2 separate regions of the Homo sapiens genome follow, and region 1 is linked to region 2. The links are contacts of gene promoters, found by promoter capture Hi-C in blood cells and fetal thymus (Javierre and others, 2016). All regions are on one chromosome and are shown on one strand. Each heading gives the region's core, a stretch centred on a gene start or on the middle of the fragment in contact. The rest is flanking DNA. Distances are from core to core; before and after follow the strand shown. Region 1 overlaps ERP44 (endoplasmic reticulum protein 44). Region 2 holds the start of TEX10 (testis expressed 10).

Region 1 (3,191 bases), core at 610-3,109, 340 kb before region 2:
ATTCTGGAGTAATAATGGATGTAATCTGGACTAATCTTACTACTGGGAAAATTAGAAAAACCAGAGTAATAATAATAATAATAATAAAACACTTTTTGAAAGCATCTAAGAGTGAAAAAAAAAAAAAAAGAATTATGGGCCAAGACTGGAATAGAAGGAAACCCAGAACATTAAGCATGGCATTTTAAGCTGCTTTTCTTCTACGACCATCTGTCTTTCCGGAAAAGGCAACTGATAGTGCTCAATCCCACTGATCATCAGGGAAATATAAATTAAAACCACAATGAGACTCTACTACACATACACCAAAATAGATTAAAAATGTAAATAGCTGGTATCAAATGTGGGTAAGGACGTGGAGCAATGTGAACTTTGATATACTACTGGTAGGAATGTAAACTGCTAAAACCACTTTGGAAAAACTGGTATCCACTAAAATTGAATGTATATATGCCCTATGACTCAGCAATTCTATTCATAGGTATATATATCCAGTAGAAATCTGTGCATATATTCACCAAAGACATAGATAAAGAATGTTCATAGCAGCATTATTCACGGTAGTCAAAATCTGGAAGCAGTCTAAATGTCCACCAATAGTAGAATGGATATATTGTGTTATATTTATATAGGGAATTATATTCAGCATGAAAATGAATGAACTACAGCTTCATGCAATATGAATGAACTCCATAAATATAAAGTTGAGTGAAAGAAGCCAGACACAAAAGACATGATTCCATTTTAGGTTCAAAAACAGGAAAAGCTTCCTATAGTCCTATTGAAAATAAGTATGGTGATTATGAAGATGGTAAGTGGGGGTAATAACTGAGAAGGAAGACAAGGGGTTTGGAAATACTTTATTTCTTGACTTAGCTCAGGGATTGGCAAATTATAGCCATGGGTCAAATCTGACTTGCTGCCTGATTCTGTTAGGTCCACAAGCTAAAATTGGTCTTTAGTTGTTTTTTGTTTTTTGTTTTTCTTTTTTGGAGGGACGGGGTCTCACTCTGTCGCCCAGGCTGGAGTGCAGTGGTGGATCCTGGCTCACTGCAACCTCTGCCTCCTGGATTCAAGTGATTCTCCTGCCTCAGCCTCCCGAGTAGCTGGGATTACAGGCGCCTGCCACCACGCCTGGCTAATTTTGCATTTTTAGTAGAGACGGGGGTTTCACCATGTTAGTTAGCCAGGCTGGTCTCGAACTCCCGACCTCAGGTGACCCACCCACCTTGGCCTCCCAAAGTGCTGGGATTACAGGCGTGAGCCATGGCACAAGGCCCTGGTCTTTACATTTTTAAATAATTGGGAAAAAAATTTAATATTTCACAGCATGTGAAAATTATTTGTCCAGAAAGAGCTTTATTGAAACACAGCCACGCTCATTTGTTTACATATTGTCTAAGGTTACTTTTGTGCTACAACTGCAAAGCTGAGTAGCTGCCACAGAGATTATATGAACTGCAAAGGCTAACATACTTACTATCTGACCCTTTGTTGAAAAAAATTGTCCACCCTCTCTCTTAGTTTGGGCTGCTATATTAAAGTACCATAAACTGGGTGGCTTACAAATTAACAGAAATTCATTTCTCATCATTCTGGAGGCTGGAAATCCAAAATCAGGGTGCCAGCATGGTCAGTTCTAGTGAGAGCTGTCTTCTAGGCTGCAGACTGCCTACTTCTCATTGTATCCTCACATGGCAGAAAGAGAGCTACATAACTCTCTGAGGTCTCTTTTATGAGTTCACTAATCCCATTCATGAGGACTCCATCTCATGAATGGAGGATTCATTCCCTAATACTGTCACATTGGGGATTAGGATTTCAACATATGAATATTAGGACACACAAATATTTGGTCCATACCACTCTAAGTAGTGATTATATGGGTATGTTTACTCTGTGATAATTTTGGGGGACCAGATATTTAAACTGTGATTTATACACTTACAATTCTTTGAAGTGTATATGCATACACAAAGTTTTTAAAAACTGTACCTAATACAAAGTTTTTAAAAACTTGCATTCTTAGGCCATTGGTTTTAAAAACAAAAGACCTGGAATGAAAGATATGTCTTACATAAAGTAAAGAAAGGAGAGAGGTCCTTACAGACATAACTCTTTGTACTTGTTCCTCCAGCCTCTTAGGTTTTTAAGTTTTATTTTGGTGGGAGTTGTAAGAATTTCGATGGGCTTGATTTCAGATGCATGGGATGACTGAGGTCGGTTACCTATCACTGCTACCTGCTTTCATTATTTATAATGGAAAAGACAACATTAACTGCTTTACAAAAAACAGAAAAATCTTCTAGTGGCAAAGGATTATTCATTGTATAGAAATAATTGTAACTAAAATCTGCAAAGCATTGCTCCTAAAGCAGCAGTCCCCCACCTTTTTGGCACCAGGGACTGGTTTCATGGAAGACAATTTTTCCACTGATCAGGGTGGGGGATATGATTTCGGGATGAAACTGTTCCACCTCAGATCATCAGGCATTAGTTAGATTCTCATAAGGAGAATGCACCCTAGATCCCTCACATGCACAGTTCACAACAGGGTTCACATTCGTATGACAATCTAATGCTGCCACTGATCTGACAGGAGGCAGAGCTCAGGCCGTAATGCTCTCTCGCTGGGCAGCCCTCTTCCTAGCAGGCCGTGGACTGATACAGGTCTGCGGCCCAGGGTATGGGGACCCTTGTTCTAAAGGACATCCACCTAAACAGGGATCCTCAACCAACAGATGGGTATCAGAATCACCTGAAAGGCATTTTCAAACTCATTTTGAAGGCTGTAGTGAACTACTACTATTACTGGAAATGTAACAGAGGGGTTCTGGGATAGCAAAGGTGAAGAATCACTGGTGTATATTACAGAAACAGCTATGATATAGTTATGTTCACTATATGATTCTTACAATTCATAACTCTGTTAACATAGTAAGACAGGTGGAGGAAGCTTGTGGTTTCAGACATTTGAATTTAAAGTAACAATGCACAGTAGAAAGCCCATACCTCTCCATTTTCAAATGTTATTTCTCGGACAAGAGGAACACATTTATCTTGAATCCAATTGTAAGTCACATCAAAATTTGTCATAGCTCCCAAGTACACCATATCCGGAGCAGAATGCTATTACAAAACAGAAAAAAAAAATTAAATCTAACCTGTGCTGGCAAAAGTATATTCTTATT
Region 2 (3,137 bases), core at 377-2,876:
CTATTACCAAATTTTCATCTCACCCACACCTCTAGTTACCTTAGTCTTAAAAAACAAAACAAAACAAAAAAAAAAGCTGGGGGTCGGTGGGTGGGTGGGTGGGAGGGAATAAGGCCTAAAAAGAAGGCCATGATACTCACCTGGCCTCTTTTAATACAAAAATGGTTTTCATTAATTAAGCAAGCACACTTTGTGAGCTTTTCCTACAATTTTATTACTAGCTGGTACTAGACACGAAAGTAAATGGTACAGGACATTCAGAAAAATTAACTCCCTTCCTCCTCCACTCCTGTGGGTTCTATTTAGCCATTAACCACCTGATAGATCTTCAACAGTCTACTGTCAACTTCATGCCATATTATCTATCGCTTTGTATTAGTCACATTAATGCTTTCTCTGTTAGGAAAATTAAGAAGGCTGATTGACCTTCCTTGACTTTTCAAACCTAGTAATATTATTACGGGATACAAAGCATTTTCATGCGAAGAACTCTCAAAGTTCTACTAGTAATTGACTTTAACTTATAACAAAGATTTTCATAACACAGCAAATCAAAAAGTCCCACTAAGCCACTTTTACAGTAGCCGGTTTTTAGCAAAAGGTAGGAACGCCAGTCTCAGAGGAGGAGCTCACATCACTAGTCCTTAGGTTTGCGATCCCCAATAGTTTCAAAGCTGAATGTCACACATTCCTACTGTAGGTCTTTTCTAATTCCAACAAAAGGCAGATCCTAGCGTTTTTAGGATTTCAATCGAACTAAATTCCAACTATAAATAGTTTGCCTGCCACCTTCTTACCCTTCCTCATTTCCACCTTCTTTTCCAAAAAAAATCAGAGAGAACGATCGTACTGCACTCGGCCTTTGATAATTTCCTCCCCAAACCCTTAAACTCATGAGTTCCTCCAAACTCCACTGAGGGGCCAACCAGAGGCGACAGACTTCCCAAAAAGCAAATGGCCCAGGCAGGGGCGACCCCAGAAAACTGGTAGTCCCCTTCCGCTCGCTTAACTCTCCCGCCTGGGCGACCAGAGGACGGAACAGGGGACGCCAGCTCATCCCCACTCCGTATTCGGTCCTGCATCCATCCCAGAGGCGAACACACCATGGGTTTTAGGAAACCATCGTTCCTCCTACTCCAAGGGACGCCGGCCAGGACCAGAGTCGGGGAAGTGGGGCCCGATTCACACACTCCGGGCTAAAACTCTCTCGGACCCGAAACCAGGCGAACCCGCCCAGTCACCTGAAGCTCCGCAAACGCCCTAGGGGGTCCCGCCCCCGCAGTGCCGGCCGCACACCCAGGCCCAGCTCGGAGGGACGCCGCGGCCCAGACCCGGGGGACGCAAATCGTGCACGGCCGACCCTGCCCGCTTGGGCCGCGGATCGGGGGGCGACGGCCCCACCACGCTCAGTCCCGCGCCCCGGGAGGACCCGGCCCGACGGGCGACGGCCGCTTACCTGAGGACCCGGCCGCGGCCGGGGCGAGAAGCCCGAGAAGACAAGCGAGGGAGCAGAAGCCCACGGGGCAACAGCGTGCGCCGCCGACCTCAGGCTCTAGCTCCCGGAGCGTGTTTTCAAATAGCCTCGTCCTCACGCGGCCGCGTCTCCTTCCGCCGCCCGGAAATCAGGGCCCCTCCCCCTCCCTGCTGTGCTCACGTGATCGCAGCCCGCAGCCGCGCGCAACCGGGGAGGCGGGAGCGGGAGCGGTAGGCCCCGCCCACAGAGGAGGGTACCCCGCCGGAAGCCCCCTGCTCTGTGGGAACCGGAGGGAGGACAGCGCGAGGTCCCCGGACAAAGCGTGGCGCATAAGTCCGGCCCGTAACTTGGTGGGCAGGCAACTTAGGGGATGTGGGCCTGGTTATAGCTGAGCATGCTTTTCTATTCCTCCCAGACCACAGTTCTTCAGACCTGGAGCCACTTTCAGAGAAGAGTATAAGTTGCACTGAATTGAAAAAGGGAAAAGTTTAGGACTGCAGAAGATGGAATTCCTGGGGACGTTAAACTGGGCTAAGATGGAGCAGATAAGATTTCCTTAATTAGAGCAAGACACACCTAGTATCTAGAGCCTGGAAGTCTTGGTCAAGGATTCTCCCTAACATCTCAGTTTCTCAGCACTAACATTCCTGCTACTAAAATGAAGTGAGAAATTAATTTCTGAAGTTAAGTAAAGAAATAAACTAAAATTCCTAGAAAAGAGGTAAGAAGAATGAGCCTTTGAAAAATGTCTTCACAAAGACTGGCATGATGGCATGGAAGAAAGAGCCCCAGGTAAGGACTTCAGACCTTGATTCAAATTTGTGTCTACACCTCACCAGATAATTAAGACTTAGTAAAGCTAGCGAAGATATTGACCCTCATTATATTGGGTGGGAATTCAAAGGAATGATGTCTAAATCCAGGGAGACCCAAGCACTGGAACTAAAACCATGCCTGTTCCATAATCGGAGATAAAGAGGCAGCGCTAGAAACCCTGACCTCCCTTTGCTGGCAATATGGCCACATCACCACAATCTGCCTGGAATCGACCATAACCATAAATATTTGGGAGTCATTGGCATTATGTGGCATTATATTCTGTTTAAAGCTATGAGACTAGATCAGAAGAGGAAAGATTTATTGCCAACCAGACAAGTCCCTGGAACTCCAAACTTGTATCCAACAGTTTTTTCAATGTTTCCTTCAGATATCCAGTATACATCTCAAGGTCAACTTGTCCAAAACAGAGCTACTGATGATTTTCCCCTTGAAATCTACTCTTCCTACAGCTTATTCATCTCAAATAGTAAGTCTGTCCTTGCAGTTACTCAAGCAGAAACCTTTGGGTTTTTGGTTTGGCCTCTTTGTTCCACACCTCACATCTAATCCATCTGGAGATTGACTCTACCTTTAAAGACATCCTAACTTTCACCAGTTAACACACCTCCCCTGCTACCATTCTGGTCCAAGCCGCTTCTTGATCACTGCAAAAAGCCTGCAAACACATCTTCCTGCTTCCCTTATTGTCCTTCTTCCCCCTACAGTCTGGTATCAGCAGAGCAGCTGTGTGATTATTTTAAGATCTAGGTTAGATCAGATCACTCTTTGGCTCAAAACCCTTTAATGGCTCCCTATTTCACTTCGAGTAAAACCCAGAGTCCTT

Evidence for each region. Contacts are between HindIII fragments. The CHiCAGO score rates a contact against its expected background, and 5 or more counts as called.
Region 1: a contact is called between a fragment that was not itself captured here and the fragment with the promoter of TEX10 in region 2, in 1 of 17 cell types (naive B cells). The highest score is 5.4, in naive B cells.

What each region holds. Positions count from the first base shown.
Region 1 is chr9:100,013,310-100,016,500 of GRCh38, forward strand. ERP44 (endoplasmic reticulum protein 44) reads right to left here. Exons shown (of 12, transcript NM_015051.3): 8 at 3,013-3,129. Among named protein-coding and RNA genes, the nearest start is that of ERP44, 84 kb to the right of the region's middle. The HindIII fragment of the contact is 2,190 bases long and covers 765-2,954 here.
Region 2 is chr9:100,351,316-100,354,452 of GRCh38, forward strand. TEX10 (testis expressed 10) reads right to left here and starts at 1,627. Exons shown (of 15, transcript NM_017746.4): 1 at 1,457-1,627. It overlaps LOC105376177 (a long non-coding RNA gene), which reads left to right and starts at 1,735. Exons shown (of 4, transcript NR_188642.1): 1 at 1,735-2,266; 2 at 2,682-2,780. RefSeq lists enhancers at 866-915, 1,320-1,954 and a silencer at 1,256-1,805. The HindIII fragment of the contact is 13,255 bases long and covers 1-3,137 here.